3 separate regions of the Homo sapiens genome follow, and all the other regions are linked to region 3. Evidence: promoter capture Hi-C in 16 types of primary human blood cells and fetal thymus (Javierre and others, 2016). All regions are on one chromosome and are shown on one strand. Each heading gives the region's core, a stretch centred on a gene start or on the middle of the fragment in contact. The rest is flanking DNA. Distances are from core to core; before and after follow the strand shown.

Region 1 (4,509 bases), core at 1,971-4,470, 89 kb before region 3:
CAACTTTTGTGCTTCTAACACGCCAAACCTCTATCCATTCAGGACCATTTTTTAAAACTGAAAATGTTTTATTACATTAAGGAATAAATACATACAAAGATGCGAATAATGGTAGTCATTCTCCTTCAGATGTTTTAATCAACTTATCGTAAACACAGAACGAAAAGTCTTCTTACAGCCTTGGTATTTGTCAGGACTTTTGAACTCTCTTTCTCTTTGCTGGGATGATTCTCCATCTGGTGTCTGCATGACTGGCTGCTTTTCCTCCTGTTCAGATTTCATTCTCTGAGATAAGTCTTTCCTGGTGACACTCTGCCCTGTCACTTTTGTGGCACATACAGAACCTCTATATTGTGCTGCTCTGTGTAATTTTCTGTGTACTATGCTGTGTATTTTTCCTCCTGACACTTAGCAAAATTTTGTATGCTTAGAACAATTTTGTATGTTTATTTTTATCCTTGTATAATGTGGCCTCAAAAGAGCAGGGACCTGTCTTGGTTTGTGTTGCATCATCACTCCCTCAAACTGTGCCTGGAGCAAGGTATCTGCTCAGTAGATGACTGCTGGATGAATGAATGAACGAAGGAATGAATGACGAGAGAGGATGAAGTCACAAGGTGGAGAGGGTGTGGGGGCAGGTGGGGACTGATCCCTCTATCCTGTGGTTTTAGAGATGAGGCATCCCCGACTGAGAAGAGACCTGTGATCTGGTACCTGAAGCAAGGAAGGTCCACTCCATCTTTCTTCACAGGAAACGTGGCTCCAGCTTTCAGAGTCCCACCTTCTCCTTCTGCTACTCTGAGGTTATGGGAAGACTGCACTCACTTCCTGACATGCCCTGTTTTACCTAGAGTCAGTGGATTCTGTTGAGCACTGAGATTTCCCAAACTCAGTGTCTCTGTGCAAACTTTTAAGTTCACAGCCCGACCTTGGAGAAGCAAGATCTCAATAGCTTCTCCAGAGGAGAGACTTCAATACAGCTGCTGTCTGATGCCAATTAAAGCACCATTACTGACATGGAGTCATCTGAGGAATGGAAATTGCTGTTTCTCAGGGTCTGGAAGAGGAGGAGAAATATAGAAGTCAGAAATCTCAGACTGAAGGACCAAGGTGCAGATCTGATGGCATCGTACCTCTCTTGCATTCTGAGTCGGGCCATTCAAAAAGACCCACTCTGTTCCTGGAACAATCACTTGAATGCTGCACCTGTCCACAACTTGCAGGAAGGGGCTTCCCCTTTTTCTCCCCTGTTTCTCATGGATTCCTGAGTGAAGCCCTGTGTTGGAGTCCAGGGCAGCGGCTCTCATCATCCATTTCTTCTCTCTCTGGGTCTACAAATCCTGAATTCTCGAGGCTGTGCCCTTCCTGACAGGTGTTGAATGAACCTTTGACTCGCCATTGGGAACATCTATGGAGGGCAGAATGGGCAGGAGCCAACTCACCTTCATGAGTGCTCCCACTTCCTCCTCCTCCTCCTCCCCCTTCTCCTTCCCACGTGACCAGCGGCTCCCCATCTCCAGGACATGGAACTTTTGGGAAAGATGTCCACCTCTCCTCCAGTCAGCATTACAATCTGTCCTTACTGCTGTCGGAACAATTTATCTTATTGCACATTTGACTCAAACCCTGGTTCCACCTCTATTACGATTGCTAATAGCTGGAGACTTGATGTGCCCATTTAAAAGAAATATCCCTGAGGCTAAACTTTTCTTTATCTTGGTTTCACCTTATTTATAGCATTCTTGACTTTTTCTACTTTCTTCTTTTCTATTTTCTATCATAACGTTCAATTCTATCAAAATTTATCATTCATAAATCATAATGAAGCACGTGCATTTTCAGCTGATTCACTGCAGCTCTTTTTTTCTTGGGATAGAAATCATGTCAATAAAAACCATAGTCGGACCATAAAGCATCAAATGGGACCTCAATATCAAATTGGGCTCAATTCTGGAATACAACTAAAACAAGTGGAGATCTATACACAAGTTATAGGTTGGTGTTGGGGGAGGAGTCAGTGGATGGAAAATTGCTTAGAGGAGATATTAAGGCTAGGGAGACCAATGCTAAGTTGACTCAATTGGATTTTTTTTTAAGGCAGGCCTGGAATCAGGTATCACATGAAGGATGATGGGGGAATTAAGGAATTTGGTCAGATATTGAGGGGGAGAGATTCATGATAAACCCAAATCTCTAGAGCAGATTGTCACTAAATGACAGCAGAGCGGCCGAGGAAGACACACAGACACTTCCAGATGAATTTGCAAAGCAGTTTATTGCAGGGTTCACAAGGGACTTCAGCTCAGGAAAGCTGAAGGGGTATGGAGACTGATGAGGACAGTTGCTGATACCCAGAGTACATGGAGGGATGGGATCTTGGCTATGATTGAGGAGCTTGGCAGATGAGTGATGATGAGGACTGCTGATACAGGAGCTTAGATGGTGGTATCCAGGTGAACTGGAACCACAGGATACCGTGGAGAATCCCGTGGATCTCTGTTGTCACATGCAACTACATAGAACCTCCTTCCTGGTCTGTCTGCATACGTGCAGTTTGAAATATTCTGTGCACCTGGATTTATGAGGTCACAGTGGAGTAAAGGCACCCGGAATCTACTCCGATGACAATTGTTGAGAGTTCTGTTATGAGGGCAGCGTATACTTTGGTTACCACAAACATTAACTACATTAGCAAAAGTTGTACGAAGAAAAGTATTTTGGTTTTTGCAACGCCATCGATAATTGTTAATTGCCCGCATTGCAATGGTGCATCGAGGGGGGTTCAGACTGATGTGCTGGATGGCAAACCACTGAGCCCTCGTAAACTGTGGGGGTCTGGCATGGAGTGAGCCCTCCACACCCATAAGCCCCAACAGAAGAAGCAGACAAATTTGGGAAGTGAACAGTTTTGGAACCATGTTTCCTGTAAGAAAAGAAGAGAAGTAACTACTCCCCGATCCGGTCTCGGTTATGACACACTCTATAGTGTCTCAACCCACAGGCCCCTCTGCTGCCACTCTGGGGTCGCATTTCCTTTTCTTCCTGTCCCCAAAGTGTGCCACATCTCCTAAGCACTAACTTCAGCTCACCTCTCCCTCAGGTGCTGCCCTGTCGCTGCCCCTCCTGTCCCAGCTCTGGGGATTGTTGACTTACCCAGTCTCTGAGCTGTGGCTCCTGTGAGAACTGATCCAGCTGGTTGTTCTGGGGTTCAGGGGCAGCTGGTCTCCCCTACTTGGAACTGTTTAAATAAAGCTTCCCTTGGTGGGTCTGGCCATGCAGAAACCCACAGATTGACACATGGTCCACTTGTGCAATCATCCTTTTTATTTGATGACTTGGCTGAGCAACGGATACCCAAGGACAGCCCTGCTGCTCTTTCTGCTATACGGACTCTAATTCCAAGTCATCCTGTGTTAGACAGAGTTTTGCCGGTGGGATCTGGACTCTGGGTGAAAACTATACGCTGCCGGCAGAATGACCACAGATTTTATAACTGTCCTCTGGCAGGCCCCTAAATGACTAAATGACACGAAGGCAGGCATAGTAGTTAGGAGAAATAGAGCCACAGAGGGCTGTTTGCCCAGGAGAAACCCAGCTTCCCTTCCATTTTTAGTAATATCCTTGGTTCTCTCTCACATAAATGCTCTCCATCTCATCCACCACTCTTGCTGGAAACTTGAGCTATTAATTTCTTGGGGCACAAGATTCTGTAGATAATTAAAACAATCTGCTCCATACAATTGAGGAATTTTTTTCTTTACTCCTCTTGCATTGGATCCACTTTCTCTTAAGTCTTGCCCTGATTATTGATTCCACTTTGTGTAAAGTTACATAACCTAAAAACACACCGAGGACAGTTGTAAAATCTGGCAGAGGATGAATGAACATTTGGTGTCATGAAAGATTCCAACCTAGCACTCGGTATTCCTGTGATCTTTTCAGCCTATGGTATTTTCTACAAAACAGTGTGTTCTGGGGTTGTCATTCATCTTCCTGGTAAGTTTCATTTTGTGATATTAACAAGAATATGGTTCTGTATTTACAAATGAACATTTAAGGACAGAGCACTGTATTCCTGAAAGTATAGAGGTCAAGTGTACAGTTTGATACACAAAGCATACATTTATTCTTGGCCCTCAGAGAAACACAGGAAAGTACTTGTAGACATATAATTGTATTACAGTGTGATAGAGGTAATAGCATTTGTGTGAACATGGTGTCATAGGGACACTGCTGGTGAAGGAAATCACTTGGCTTGAGAAATAAGGAAAACTTCAAAAAAAAGTTTATTTCAGCAGGTCCTAAAGGATAAGCAGGGGATTTTCAGGGGATTTAGAGAAGAGATGAGCATTCTGGGCACAGGGGATGATGTGGGGAAATTGTACAGAGGTGAGAAGTGAATTGCAAAGGTAAGGCCTGGGTACTAACAGATGTTAAATCTGGTCTAGCTTTGAGATTAGAAAATGGAAAGTAGACCCTTAAATGATATAATATACCTTCCAACAGTTA
Region 2 (4,446 bases), core at 892-3,391, 70 kb before region 3:
CTGATAGATGCAAACACCTCAGAGATGAAAGTTTTTAGTTTAACTGGTCTGCTTAGGTAAGGAGCAAGAATCACTTTGGGGTTTGGAAATAACCTTGTACATAGGACAATCCCATAAAGGGTTGAGAGGGCGGTAGTCATCTCCGTTATTGACAAGGAGGTGGAAAAAGGATGTGAGAACACTTGTTGCCAAGAGTACACAAAGAATAAGTGTAGAAAAGGCAGGAGGGGAGAACTGGGAACATTAAGTATAGGGCCAAGACTTCTTAGGAACAGGACAAGGGACCGTGGCTTGTTCTTTTGACTCTGCTCTTCTTTGAAATGCTTTCACAGGAAACATGAATCTGATGTGGACCCTCCTCCTTTTCCTCCTTTTGGACGTAACTGTCTTCATTCCAGCCCTGCCCTTCTCAACACGACATTTAGACAACCCCAGGTCGTGGGTCCCTAGAGGACACCACCGATACTGTGATGTGATGATGAGGTGCCGTTGGCTGATCTATAGGGGTAAATGCGAGCAGATCCACACATTCATTCATAGAATCTGACCACCATAGCAGATTTCTGCAGAACTCCACCACTGCCCTGTACCAACAGCCCCTCCATGTGCAGCTGCCACAACAGTACTCATGATGTCAATGTCACTGACTGCTTTGCCAGCACAGGGACCCGACCTCTTCACTGCCACTACCAAAAATAAGAAGGAGTCCACCAGGCCCATGCGAGTGGGCTGCAAGAAGGGGGCATCTGTTCACCTGGATGGCTAGGTTCCTCCTGACAACGGCACCTGAATGACTTGCACCCTACGCCTTCAAATCTGTGCAGCACTGTCAAGGTCTTCTTTGTAAATGCTTCGTCCTTTGCACGCAGGCTCCTGCGTCTTTCTTACAGCCTGTTCCCCACCAACCCCATGTGCCCTACCCCTGCCACAGTGTCAGGGCTTTTGGTGGAGGATAAGGCTGCAGTGGAGGGTTGGTGGGAGGGAGCCTGAATTACGGAAATAATACTCGGGAAAAGACTTGCTCCAACCAAGCTGCTAGACAATCCCCTTCTCCTGGGGCTGATCTTCCCACCAGCTGCTCTCATAAAACCTCCTGATGGCTGGCCCTAGGTTTCCTGGATCATAGGGTCCTTCTGCCTTCTGCGGGACATTCTATGCCTTTCTCCTCAATGGGCTCCTTCGGAGGGTATTAGGGACGATACCCTGGCGGGAAACCGCTTCCTTTAGGGAAACAAATCACTGTGGCTCCAGGGGTGTCACCGGAAAAAGCCGTTTCCGGAGAAGCCGGAGGAGCTTGGGCAACTCCGCAGGCCCAGAGCCTTCGTGGTCTCCCAGTTCCCGTGGCCGTCGTATTGGTCGGCAGGGGGCGCCGCGCCACAAGCTTCCTGCACAAGAGTCCAAAACTTCTTTCTTGGTTTCCTTTGAGACAGGCTGCAGGTTTCTTGGTTGCTGACACGGGTAGACGATAATAGGTGAATAAACAAAATCCAGCCAGCATAAATACAGTCTAACTGTTGAAGAACAGATTTCTGAGTCTACCATAACTTTCATACACTGCAGCACTTTAACGTTGAACCTGCCACCTTCAGATTCACACTGCAGCACCTCAGGTAAGAAGGAAAGGAAGTGAATATGCACTGAGGACCTACTTGTGTTATGAGCTTTACAGTTCAGCTGCGCTGGAGAAGAGTTTATTTCTTTCATGGAATCCATTACATCACCGATCCCCTTCTGAAGGAGGTTATTTTATCCACGAGAGGAAGCATCCAAAGGTGTTCATATTCTCTACCCTGTGACTCCAGCAGAATGGTGACAAGGTTTTGAAGCAAAGGAGGGCACTTGACTCTAGGGCAGCCGTCCATTAACTGACTAGCCCGGTGCCTGTGGAACAGAGTTGCGTGAGGATTTTACCCTTTTGGAATAATCCAGTGACAAAACTGGATACTATTACTTTCATTCCTTCCCCCGATGCCAGGAGGTATAGCTGTTTTGCCTTTGTTCTTGACATTCAGCACTTAGCCTAATGCTCGCTATAAAAGTGCCTTCAAGAAATCTTTAAGGGGCCATTTTGGTAGGTCTGGTTGTTGCTGTGGATCTTTTGTAGATGCCCATTTTTAGATTAGAAAAGTTTCTTCCCTTCTGCTCCTGTTTATGTCTCTTGAATGGATTGGGAATTTCGTTGAATGATGGGATTATACAGCATATTTCTTTAATCAGTTAATGGGGTGAATTAGATTAGTTGATTTTAGAATACTAAACCAACCTTGTATTCCTGGGATAAACCCATTTTGGTTATGTGATATAATCTTTTTTATATATGACTAAATTTAATTTGCTAATATTTTGTTAAATTTTTTTTGCATTTATGTTCACGAATGAGATTGGTCTGTAATTTTTTGTATTGCCTTGTTTAATTTTGGTATCTAGGTTATATGTTAGCTTCCAGAAATGAATTGGGGAGTAGTCCTTCTTTATTTTGTAACTGGAATTATATGTTATTTTAATACTTGGTAGAACTCACATGTAAGGCTGTTTGGTCCTGATATTTTCTTATTTTCTTTGAGACTGCTTTTTCTTTTTTCTTTTCCTTTTTTTTTTTTTTTGGAGATGGGTCTTCCTATGTTGCCCAGGCTAGTGTGCAGTGGCTATTCACAGGTGCAATCACAGAGCATACCTCGAATTACTGGTCTCAACTGATCCTTGAACACTCGGTCTCAGGTGCCTCAAACTCCTGGGCTTGAACTCCTGATCTCGAATAATCCTGCTGCCTCAGCCTCCAGAGTAGCTGGGTCTACAGGTACACACCACCAGGCTTAGCCTCAAACTATTTTAAACTTCTGTTTCAATTTCCTTAATGGTTAAAGAGATGCTAACTTTTCCATTTCTTCTTGAGAAAGCTTTGGTAGATTGTTTTTTCCCACGTAGGAATTTATCCATTTCGTCTAAAGTTCCCAAATATATTAGCACAAAGTTATTCATAATCTGTTTAATATTTATAGCATTGATTTTATGTCCTATTTTTATTCTGACTTTTTTGTACCTTTTTTATTGATAAAACTTTTGAGGTGTGTCTCTCTTATTAGACAGAGATTTTTTCAGACATGCAGAAGCGAGTACTTATAAACTCATGTAGAAACTTTTTTAGAATGGGTCCGTCTTTTTTTTTGAGATTGAGTCTCACTCAGTCACCCAGGCTGGAGTGCAGTGGCACAATCTCGGTTCACTGCAACCTTCGGTTCCTGGGTTCAAGCAACTCTCCTTCCTCAGCCTCCTGAGTAGCTGGGATTACAGGCATGCGCCACCACACCCAGCTAATTTTTGTATTTTTAGTAGAGACAGGGTTTCACCATGTTGGCCAGGCTGGTCTTGAATTCCTTACCTCAGGTGATCTGCCCTCCTCAGCCTCCCAAAGTGCTGGGATTACAGGTGTGAGCCACCGTGCCTGGCCAGGTCCACCTCTTGAGCCACACAGATCTGCTTCCCCAGACAGGTTCAAGAGACAACTCCTCCAGGCTTCCTACCAGTCTCTGTTCCTGAAGGGAAACTTAAGAGGAAGTTTACTGTGGACAAACAAACTGTAGTCACTGTCAATGCCGCAGATCTTGGGGCTGTAACTAGCACCCATCCACTCCTTCCTTTACTATGTATTCTAATCTCCCTTTACCCTTAGGTCTTAGTTGCTTATTCTTATTTACCCTCTCACCAGTTCTGAGGGTTAAGCCCTTGGTAATCATATTTTTCTCAGGCTGAGGTGGCTACACACTTACATTCACAGTTAAAATGGAGCATGGGAGTAACAGAAAGCACCCAAGTAGATTACTTGGGTTCTACATAAATTCTTTTCTGCCTCTATTGGGTAAAAGCAGCCCTACCTCCCTCCTGCTAATCAAGGTTACTTAGCCTTGACAGTATGGCAACTCCTCTTCACGTCTGCTGGTCCCTAGACACGAGAAATCCAAAGTGTCCTGGGAAAAGCTGTAGCTTGCAGTTCAATGAGACCTTTCTGTGTAAGTTGGCAAGGGTGCATCTTCTTTGGGGACCTGGACCTTTGACCCTGCAGAGCCTAGAGTTACAGAAATGAAAGCACAACATATCTGAGTGGGTCAATCAGAGAGATGGTAAGTGGAGCTACTCCTGCTTCTACTTCTCGGTTCCTGGATCCGTGTATTCTTCCTATTGGGAACACAGTACCCTTTACAGGCCTCTGATTTAATAAATACACTGCATCCTGAAGAATGATACCCCATACTTTCATAATGTTACCTCTTAGCTGCTGCTTCAGCTGTGTCTTTGGAAAGTCAGTTTCTCTTCTTTCCTCCCTCCCTCCTTTCTTTCTTCTACCCTCCTTTCTTCTTTTCTCTCTTTTCCGTTCCTTCCTTTCCTCATTTCTCTTTCTCTTTCTTCCTCCCTCCCTCCCTTCCTTTCTTTCCTTGAGCTGAAATGGCT
Region 3 (4,564 bases), core at 686-3,185:
CGGCTGCCTGAAGTGTGCAGTGAGTTCTCAGTCAGGTGTAATGCCTGTGCTGCGTGAGAAACCAGGAGGTCAAGCAGGGAGTCTAGAACAAGTTCAGCAGAAGCAACAACAAATGTTGCCATGGCATCTACTGCCCTAAGACAAGCGGGGCTATGCCTCTGCAACTGGGTCAAGGATAAGGCTGCAGTAAGGGCTTCTGATGGTTCCCCATTGAAGTGCAATTAAAGCTCCAAGGGCTTGTCTAGATTGCTATGCATAAATAGACAAAATGGCTTCCTGTAGTTTCAGGATTCCTAGGGCCAGGGGCTGTTGAAGAGCCTTATTATAGTTACAGAAGATCTGTTCACATCTGAACTGTGGTTCTGAAATCATCTTGCTGGGTGGAGGCCACTTTTGTGCAGCCACGCCCAGTGCCTTAGTGGGGTCCACCTGACTAACCAAACCATCCCACCAGGCGCCCTTCAGGTGAGTCCTGTGCCTTATTTATGTCTGTATCCCACAGTCTAATGAATGAATGAACACATTCTAACTTGACTATTCAAGAGAATAAAAGTATTATTAAAGACTCAGAAAAATAAAATACAGGTGGGGGCTGGGGGAGTAAGGAAACTGTAGGGGCCAAGGAAAAATTCCCCTTTCACCCTCCAAAGGTTTGCTGAAAATCAACTGACAAAAGACAGATTGATAGGAAAAAACGCATACAAATTGATTTGATCGTAGTTTTACACGACACGGGAGCCTTCAGAAGACCCAAAGATAACAGGGGAAAGTGGGCATTCTTACACTTGGATATCAACAAAGTATGAACAGCTGTGTAGAAATATGACTGGACAACAGGGCGATCTAATGAAAATAGACTGAGTGGGGAAACCCAGCAAGGCCTCCCTGTCTAGATTCTTCTTGGCCTCTCTGAGCATTCGTCCTTTTTTTCTGGGTATGGGGGGCAGGACCCTCTCTGGAATGAGGATCTTACGACCTACAATCACACAAGGTAGGTCAGATAATTTCACTATGGCCACTTTTTACACAGAAAGGCTGAAACAATCTGAATACACAGCACGAAGGGATATTTTGATAATTCTTAGAGGTATCCAAATTGTTACTCAGCAAAAAAACAGGTCTCTTTCTAGGAGGGCATTCTGCTGCTAATAAATATGATATTCTTTGTATTTTTTCCCCAAAAAGAATTTGAGATTTGGGATTTAAGTTTATCTTTAGTTCCTCTACTCAATTCCGACCTACAGGGTCAGTGGTTACTGTAGATAAGAACAGCCCCATCCTCTCGATGCCCCCAGAGCAGGGGTGGAGGGTGGGTGGGAAGTGGCCAGAACTGGGTGAGCGCACCCTAGAGGCCTCCTCCTCCTCCCTATTCAGTTACTCCCCCTTTCTTCTCCAGATCTGGGAAGCCTTCCAGCTGGGGGCAGCAGGACAGCCTCCATTCCCCCCGACCCCGCCTCCCATCCCCGGGAGAGGTAGCGTTGGGAGAATGCCCTCCTAGAAAGAGACTTGGGTTTTGCTCCCTAGGAGCCCTGGAATAGCTTTGGCCAGAATTCCCTATCTCCCATTAGAACCTCTCCTTTGCGTCCTTTGTTAACCTCCAAGTCTACTTGGTGAAAACGCCCACGAAGAAGTAACAAGGACTTTGTTCCTAGTGTGCCAGGTTTGGGCACCAGTGCTGTAGTGGCTTTCTCTGCTGCTCCTTGTGCATCAGCAGACAGATGTGGTTCACATAGGAAGAAAGACTAACGTAGGCAAAGATTTGCTCTTTCTTCAGCAGCCCTAGAAAGACGGCGGCCTGGGTGATTCACCACTCCTTCCTCACGTCCTTGATTTTATTTGAACTGAGCTCCAGATGCTCCTCCCACCCTTTTCCTCTTGGAAGCCAAACCCCTTTGTAATCTGTATAAGGTCCACACCCCGGGAGCTGAGTGATTGCAGAAACTGGCCTTCCATCTCTCTCAGACACCAAGCTGCAGATCCAGGTAAGCAGCCCAAGAGGTGTTCTCAGGTGCCGCTTCTGCTTCAGGGTTGCAGAAGAGGGAGCTAGGGCCAGTCCACAGCACTGAGAAAGATTGGGTGATGCTAGCGCTGAAAAAATGTGGCCCAGGCAAACATCAGCTGGGGGCAGAGGGGTCAGGGTGGAACGTGCAGGCTGCAGAGCATCCATGGGACTGGAGAAGAAGGAGCCTCCAAATTGGGGGAGGCCAGCGTTTCTCTCTGGAATACAATGGAATCTTTTATGATGCCAGTGTCAGGCACTGGCCTGAGTTCCCTTATGCTCCAAGACAACAAGGCTCTGTCACCCATGGCCCTGGATGTCGGGGATACAATTTGGTTCATGATTTATTCAAACTGATGTTTCGATGAGCCATTTGAGCACTGGGTACAAATGTATTTTGGATCAAAGAAACTCCAGTATTCAAAGATAGGAACTGACAGGATTTTAGGTCACTTTGTAGGTCACCACCTAGAGGGGAGGAAGACCTCGCTTTGGAGAGTGGGAATAAAACGCTCGTGGAAAAGGGTACACGTGAGTGTCTCATTACACGAAAAACCTCAGGAAGTAGGATGGACGTCTTTCTGGCTGACCTGAAACAGAAAGTGTAAACCAGGCAAGCCATAGGTGGGAGCTGGAGTTCTTTTTCTAAGAGGGCTCTTTTCCTTCTCTCTCCTTTTCTCAATTAGGCTTTTCTGGGAAAGTGAGGCCACCATGGCTCTGGAGAAGTCTCTTGTCCGGCTCCTTCTGCTTGTCCTGATACTGCTGGTGCTGGGCTGGGTCCAGCCTTCCCTGGGCAAGGAATCCCGGGCCAAGAAATTCCAGCGGCAGCATATGGACTCAGACAGTTCCCCCAGCAGCAGCTCCACCTACTGTAACCAAATGATGAGGCGCCGGAATATGACACAGGGGCGGTGCAAACCAGTGAACACCTTTGTGCACGAGCCCCTGGTAGATGTCCAGAATGTCTGTTTCCAGGAAAAGGTCACCTGCAAGAACGGGCAGGGCAACTGCTACAAGAGCAACTCCAGCATGCACATCACAGACTGCCGCCTGACAAACGGCTCCAGGTACCCCAACTGTGCATACCGGACCAGCCCGAAGGAGAGACACATCATTGTGGCCTGTGAAGGGAGCCCATATGTGCCAGTCCACTTTGATGCTTCTGTGGAGGACTCTACCTAAGGTCAGAGCAGCGAGATACCCCACCTCCCTCAACCTCATCCTCTCCACAGCTGCCTCTTCCCTCTTCCTTCCCTGCTGTGAAAGAAGTAACTACAGTTAGGGCTCCTATTCAACACACACATGCTTCCCTTTCCTGAGTCCCATCCCTGCGTGATTTTGGGGGTGAAGAGTGGGTTGTGAGGTGGGCCCCATGTTAACCCCTCCACTCTTTCTTTCAATAAAACGCAGTTGCAAACACCTGATTTCTGAAGCGGTTCTGTCTAGGTACTGTTTCTGGCATTGCCTTCCAGCAAGGGGTAAGAACTGTAAATCTGATTCACTTTGGAGAACGGTGAATGGAGTAATTAAATGCCTTCCCTTCTGACTTGGATTTTAGTGGCTTGAGAAAATTCCTTTCCTTGTAGATTCCCTGATGCCAAACATAAAACTGTTAAGTGTGGGCTGTTTTAGACAAAAGGGAGCTACAGCCTGGGACACTGCCATGCAGGGTGAACTGACAGAGGGGTGAAGCTCAAATACAATCATTCTCTGGCACAGAAGGAAGGCAAGTGTGACCTCAGGAAGATCCTGCTTAGCCTCAGGGTGGGGAAGAGGACTCAATGAAATTATGATCCTAAATTTCCATTTTCCTTTTTTTTTTTTGAGTGAGCTATTACTAAATCAGAAAAATGGGCACCTCTTAGTTGGAAAGCCAGAACCTTACATTTTAGAGCCAGAAGTGACTTTGGAGAGCACGGAATTGAGGGATAGCAAGTAGATTTCAGTTTGTGTACCAACTCTAATTGGAAGTGCCGGTCGGGCGTGGTGGCTCACACCTATAATTCCAGCACTTTGGGAGGTTGAGGCAGGTGGATCACCTGAGGTCAGGAGTTCAAGACCAGCCTGACCAGTATGGTGAAACCCCCTCTCTACTAAAAATACAAAAAGTAGTGGGGCGTGGTGGCAGGTGCCTGTAATCCAGCTACTAGGGAGGCTGAGGCAGGAGAATCACTTGAACCTGGGAGGCGGAGGTTGCAGTGAGCTGAGATGGTGCCACTTCACTCCAGCCTGGGCAATAAGAGTGAAACTCTGTTTCAAAAAAAAAAAAAAGGAAGTGCCTACCCAAAATGCTGTAGCAAAAAATTCTGGACAGTGGTGTGGTTGAACAACAGCCTCTATCGAAGGCACGAGAGGGGGAAGGGTGTGTGTGCCACACATTTGCCATCCCTGACCAAATGTGACCCCTGCCTTTCCGGTGACTTGCACATGGCTTGTTGCTAGTTAGTGGCACAGCCGGGACTACACCCTAGGTTTCCTGACTTCCAAGCCATTGTTCTAACTCAGGAAGCCATTGCTCTAACTCAGGAAGAAAGCTCCCCTCCTCAGTAAGTGCTGTGGAGCGGT

The links. Contacts are between HindIII fragments. The CHiCAGO score rates a contact against its expected background, and 5 or more counts as called.
Region 1: a contact is called between the fragment with the promoter of RNASE3 here and the fragment with the promoter of RNASE1 in region 3, in 7 of 17 cell types (monocytes, total CD4 T cells, naive CD8 T cells and 4 more). The highest score is 11.2, in monocytes.
Region 2: a contact is called between a fragment that was not itself captured here and the fragment with the promoter of RNASE1 in region 3, in 1 of 17 cell types (M2 macrophages). The highest score is 5.9, in M2 macrophages.

What each region holds. Positions count from the first base shown.
Region 1 is chr14:20,890,096-20,894,604 of GRCh38, reverse strand. RNASE3 (ribonuclease A family member 3) reads right to left here and starts at 3,220. Exons shown (of 2, transcript NM_002935.3): 1 at 3,154-3,220; 2 at 2,257-2,923. The coding sequence starts at 2,918. The coding sequence ends at 2,436. The region is part of intron 1 of LOC100507513 (a long non-coding RNA gene); the gene reads left to right. The HindIII fragment of the contact is 4,045 bases long and covers 1-3,254 here.
Region 2 is chr14:20,870,723-20,875,168 of GRCh38, reverse strand. LOC100507513 (a long non-coding RNA gene) reads left to right here. Exons shown (of 4, transcript XR_110261.4): 3 at 333-1,610. Among named protein-coding and RNA genes, the nearest start is that of RNASE3, 18 kb to the left of the region's middle. RefSeq lists enhancers at 1,118-1,167, 1,278-1,377. The HindIII fragment of the contact is 1,516 bases long and covers 1,384-2,899 here.
Region 3 is chr14:20,800,215-20,804,778 of GRCh38, reverse strand. RNASE1 (ribonuclease A family member 1, pancreatic) reads left to right here and starts at 1,935. Exons shown (of 2, transcript NM_002933.5): 1 at 1,935-1,982; 2 at 2,686-3,551. The coding sequence starts at 2,711. The coding sequence ends at 3,181. The region is part of intron 3 of LOC105370397 (a long non-coding RNA gene); the gene reads right to left. It overlaps LOC107984671 (a long non-coding RNA gene), which reads left to right and starts at 4,250. Exons shown (of 3, transcript XR_001750624.2): 1 at 4,250-4,564. The HindIII fragment of the contact is 7,079 bases long and covers 1-4,564 here.